Linked DNA regions of Homo sapiens: region 1 is linked to region 2. The links are contacts of gene promoters, found by promoter capture Hi-C in blood cells and fetal thymus (Javierre and others, 2016). All regions are on one chromosome and are shown on one strand. Each heading gives the region's core, a stretch centred on a gene start or on the middle of the fragment in contact. The rest is flanking DNA. Distances are from core to core; before and after follow the strand shown. Region 1 overlaps PAN3 (poly(A) specific ribonuclease subunit PAN3). Region 2 holds the start of POMP (proteasome maturation protein).

Region 1 (2,700 bases), core at 168-2,667, 520 kb before region 2:
CTTCTGGGCTCAAAGCGATCTGCCTACCCTGTGAGCCACCATATATACCATAATTTAGTGTTTTTAATTTCTATGTTTGTGGGTTTTGATTGAATCATTTGACAACAAAAGAAACAAAAGATTTAATATAGAAGTACAAATTTCTGGTTTCCCTTTAAGGATGTCTCTTACCTGTGTTGGAATTAGAGCTGTTGATAGAGCATAATTCTCTCCATTTTGACTCATTCCCTAACTGGATGACTTTTATATCTAGGCATTTGAGGTTTTGACTCTAACTTTAGCACTTCACATTTGCAGAATTGTTTTTGTTTTGTTGGTGTTTCAGATAGTGTTAAAACCTTGGAGGTGGGTGCATGAGAAAACTTTATCTTTATTTTGCAGCCATTGGAAAACTGAAGCACAAAGGCTTTTTCTTAATACACTTAGTTGCAATGATGTTTCAACCTTATAAGGAAACTGCAATTTGATTTTTTGTTTTTGTTTTTGTTTTTGTTTTTTTTGAGGAGGGGGTTGGGAGTTCTTGCTGTGTTGTCTAGGTTGGACTCCAACTCCTGGGCTCAAGTGATCCTAGCACCTCAGCCTCCTGAGTAGCTGGGACTACAGGTATGCCGTACCATGTAGCTTACGTAACATTTCGTATTTCTGTTAGTCTTGGGATTTTTCTAAGGCTTAAGAGTGATTTGATTTGTATTCAACTGCATTATCGATTCTTGACATTTAATGATGTAATTCTAATATTTTCAACTGGCTAGATTTTCAAAATGGCTTTAATCTTCAAAGTGTACAATTTTTAACAGGTAAAATATGCCAATATTTGTATTTTATGTACATTATTTGAAACCCAGTAGTTTTAATTTACCAAAATACACTTTTCAATTCTCCTAATGTAGTTACTAGTGAATAAGACATGTTTCAGATAGAATCCTGGCTCTTTGACTAGCTTTGTGACTGAACGAATTTTTAACCTTTAAGCCTCAGTTTTTCTCATCTGGAAAATGGAGATGTTATGAAAATTGCATGGCATTGCCTGCACATATTGAGGTTTCAGTCTTAGTTATTGCTATTATTAAATATTAATAATCTATAGTTAACCTCTGTATTTCCTTCTTCAAATTTTTGAGGGCATACATTGAAGACTAGTAAAATAGCTACAGATTATTGAATTGTGATTGTCCAAATGGAGGAGAGCAGTGCCATGGATAACTTGAAGTTCAAATGTTAGCTTTGGAATATGTAATGTGTAGCGTGTGGCAAAGCTGTTTTTGTTTAAGCCAAGACTAGCCTTTTCATCCCACAAACCTATACTAAGTGACAGAGAAGTGAGTACTGGCGATTTGCTGTTAGGATAGCTGGCATAAGTTTAAACATTTTTATTGGAATAATATACTTAGTATATCATGAAGGCTTTATAATACTGTTCATTTCACTCATTTAATATCCTGCTTCCAAGGTGGTAAGCTCTGATTAAGGTGATAGGAACAACAACAGCAACAAAAAAACATAATTCAGCCCTAATGGAGTTTACATTCTAGTGGGGCTATAAATATCTATAAGGTAATACTTGGTTTCGATAAGTTTTTTTGTTTTTTTTTTTTTTTTTTTTTTTGATATGGAGTCTCGCTCTGTCTCCCAGGCTGGAGTGCAGTGGCGCAGTCTCGGCTCACTGCGAGCTCCGCCTCCTGGGTTCACGCCATTCCTGCCTCAGCCTCCTGAGTAGCTGGGACTACAGGCGCCCGCCACCACGCCCAGATAATTTTTTTGTATTTTTAGTAGAGACGGGGTTTCACCGTGTTAGCCAGGATGGTCTCAATCTCCTGACCTCATGATCCACCTGCCTCGGCCTCCCAAAGTGCTGGGATTACAGGCGTGAGCCACTGGGCCCGGCCGGTTTCGATAAGTTTTATGAGGAAAACTCGAGGGATAACGTAACTCCAGGTGAGATTGAGTTAACAAATAAAGCACTTTTTCCTGTAAAAGTGCATTTGATGAGATCGGGCGTGTTCAGAGTGGTATGATCATAGACTGAAAGTGCATTTGAAATGACCCTTTAAGAAGATAAATGATTATCAAAAGCAAACCAAAACATCATCTTTTTTTTTTTTTTTTTTTTTCCTCAGAGCCTCACTCTGTAGCCCAGGATGGAGTGCACTGGCGCCATCTTGGCTCACTGCAACCTCTGCTGCCCAGGTTCAAGCGGTTCTCCTGCCTCAGCTCCCAAGTAGCTGGGATTACAGGAGCCTGCCACCGCGACTGGCTAATTCTCGTATTTTTAGTAGAGATGGGGTTTCACCATCTTGGCCAGGCTGGTCTTGAACTCCTGACCTCGTGATCCACCTGCCTCAGCCTCCGAAAGCGCTGGGACTACAGGCGTGAGCCACCGCGCCTGGCCCAATATCATCCTTTTATATGCCATTTTGAGGAATTTTTCCCCCAATTTTAAATGAACTTTTTATTTTGAGATAATTATAGAATCACCCGAAATTGTAAGATACAATACGGATATCTCATGTACTCTTCTTTTATAAAGGATAGTAACATCTTTTGTAGCTGTAGTACAGTATCATGGCCAGTATTGATTGCTGTAGTCTACTTGTTTACATTTCCACGGTCTTATTTGCACTTGCGTGTGTGTGTGTATGTGTGTACATATTACAGATCGTGCCTAACTTAATGGTTTGGCTTTCAATTTTTTGACTTTTT
Region 2 (2,700 bases), core at 162-2,661:
GGCTATTGTGAAGGACCAGAAGACACCTAAAGGACAGCATGGCAGAACACATAACATCTGGAACTTCAAAGTTGTATGACCATGGCAGTGGATATACATAACATATATGGCCTTATCATTTTCCTCTCTCAAATCCTTCGATGGCTTTTTAAAGACAAAGCCTCATCCTTAATCTTGCCTACAAAGGCTGCATAAAAAACCTGTAGCTAGGTCCCATGATGCACGCCTGTAGTTCCCATTACTCAGCCGGCTGCAGCAGGAGAATCGCTTGAGCCCAGGAGTTCAACGCAGACCTGGGCAACATAGCTAAACCCTATCATTATTTAGAACAAACAAACAAAAACAACAACAAAAACCACTTGCCTCCATCTACTTACAACCTCATCTCACAGTACTCTCCACTTTACTTTCTGAACTTTAGCCAGACTTAGGCCTTCTTTCCAGTTCCGTTTTTGCACAAGCAGATCTGCACGTAATGTTGTTTTAAATATCCTACTACCCCAAACTAGTTCGCTCTTATCTTTTAGCTGTCAGTCCAAAGATTCCCTAAGATGTCTCCATCCTGTGGCAGCAGACTATAAGGCCGTTTTATTACATTATATTTGAACAATACAGAATAGTGTAATGAGCATGGATTCTAGACTCATAAATATGTCCTTAGGCATATTTATTTAAGCCCTTCATGTCTCGGTTTCTTCACCTGTAAATTGTACTTGTAAGGTTATTGAAAAGATTAAAAGAGATAAAGGATGTAAGCACTTAGAACTGTGTTGATAACGCAATTCAAAGGGCCCAACATATGTCGGTCATGATCACATTTACTTAATTTGTAGTCACTATCGTCCCCTCTCTCCCCTCTAGCCTCCGGAGTACCCCTGCTCCTCTAGCCCAGAGGCCACACCGGCCTGGTCCTTTTTTGTATTCCTAGCCTCAGCACAGGGTTCGGAACATACCAGGCCTTCAATATTATGTTTTTTAAAAATGACAAAAGCCTTGTGTCCCAATTTTGCTTTATTAGCCGAACGATCTCAAGCAAATCACTCAAACCACCTACGCCTCGTTTACCCTTCTGTGAAATGTAATAGCTACCTCAGAGAGGTTTTGTGTTAAATAAGGCGATGTACCTACAAAAGCACACTGCACATCTTAAAATGCCGTACAAACCGTAGATGTTTATTAATAAACCGGAGTCCGTGTCTTCCCTCCCCTCAGGCACGTCTCGTCCCGACCCCTCCCTCCTCCCAGCCCACACCCTTACTGCGCCCTTGGCCCTGGGTCCCTTGGGATTGCAAGCGTGGGAGCCTCGGCCCCGCGCAGCTCCCTCCGGCGTCCCGCGCCCTCCTTCCTTCCTCGCCAGGACGGACGCACTTCCGGCGGATGTGGGGGCCAGCCCTCGGAAACGGAAGTGAGCGGCGGGGTCGACTGACGGTAACGGGGCAGAGAGGCTGTTCGCAGAGCTGCGGAAGATGGTGAGTGGGTACCCGGGCGGCTGGAGTTCCACGCGGGCTCGGGACCGTGGCTCGGCAGAAACAGGCAGTCGCCTCCCAACCCGTCCCCGGTGGCGGCGGCGGCGGCAGCGTGGGGCTGAGGCCGGCCTCAGGCGCCATAATCTGTCGAGTCACGGGGTTTGGGTGGGTCGTGACTGTCGCCGGGGCCCGGCACTAGTCCCACTAGCAGTGCTTCGGCTTCATCCTGCTCCTCTTAGCTCGGTTTGCGCCCTTCCATCCCTTAGACCCCAGCAGGCCCAGACCTCCTCCCCTTACTTGGCGCAGAAGTGGAAAAGGCAGCCGTGAAAGTGCAACGTTCTGTGGGGTGGCGCTGGCGACCCTTTCCTTGACGGGTAACCTCTGGGAGCCCAGAGCTCTCAGACTCCTCATCTCCCCCAGCCCCCGCCCTTGTAACTGCCTAGTAAACAGCCCACAACTATAGGTCGCATTTGTGTAACGCAGCTTTGCTCTACAAACTTTTTTGAGAGCTTGTAGTGTGCTAGATGTTAGAGGGGAAAAAATCAGACAGTTGCTATTCCCTGTTTGCCAGTATTGTTAGTATATCTCCTCCCTCCTTCTCCTCCCCACCACTTTCTCTTTCTTTTTAACTTAGAAGTTGTGGTATTTGAGAAGAACACTGAGTCACCATTGCCACAGACTCTGATATCGGTACTGCTGGTAGGCCATCCATCCAAATCTAGAAAGTTTCTATTGGTAAATACTGCTAATCGTTATCTAAAAAGTTTTTTAGGCACTCTCAAATGTAACTAGTAGTTAGGTTTTCGTAGATTTGCCTTTCTCGGCTCCTTCCTTTATTAGAAACAGCAAGTACTAATCTTGATATTTTACAGAAGGAAATTGGGAAAAATGACAATAACAGAATCCAGAAGTCAGAATTCACCTTTTCTTTGTGCGTTGAAACCTTGTTACTTTACAATAAAGCAGTCCAGAAGGAGGAGAATGTTCATATAGGGAAGTAATAGAAGATACATTTGGAAAGCAACAATCACACATCTCTGCTGAAGGTCCCCAACTTCTGGTGGTTCAACAATCTTCTGACTTTATGATGGTGTGAAATCCATACACAGTCAGTAGAGGCCATATTTGAGTACCAATACAGCCATTCTGTTTTTCACTTTCAGTACAGTATTCAATAAATTACATGAGATACCCAGTACTTTTTAATAAAGTAGGCTTTGTATTAGATGATTTT

What was found. Contacts are between HindIII fragments. The CHiCAGO score rates a contact against its expected background, and 5 or more counts as called.
Region 1: a contact is called between a fragment that was not itself captured here and the fragment with the promoter of POMP in region 2, in 6 of 17 cell types (naive CD8 T cells, fetal thymus, total CD4 T cells and 3 more). The highest score is 7.6, in naive CD8 T cells.

The regions. Positions count from the first base shown.
Region 1 is chr13:28,142,629-28,145,328 of GRCh38, forward strand. All of the region lies in intron 1 of PAN3 (poly(A) specific ribonuclease subunit PAN3), which reads left to right. Among named protein-coding and RNA genes, the nearest start is that of PAN3-AS1, 4.8 kb to the left of the region's middle. RefSeq lists an enhancer at 2,024-2,318. The HindIII fragment of the contact is 7,623 bases long and covers 1-2,700 here.
Region 2 is chr13:28,657,719-28,660,418 of GRCh38, forward strand. POMP (proteasome maturation protein) reads left to right here and starts at 1,412. Exons shown (of 6, transcript NM_015932.6): 1 at 1,412-1,469. The coding sequence starts at 1,467. RefSeq lists an enhancer at 905-1,064 and a silencer at 1,285-1,344. The HindIII fragment of the contact is 5,788 bases long and covers 1-2,700 here.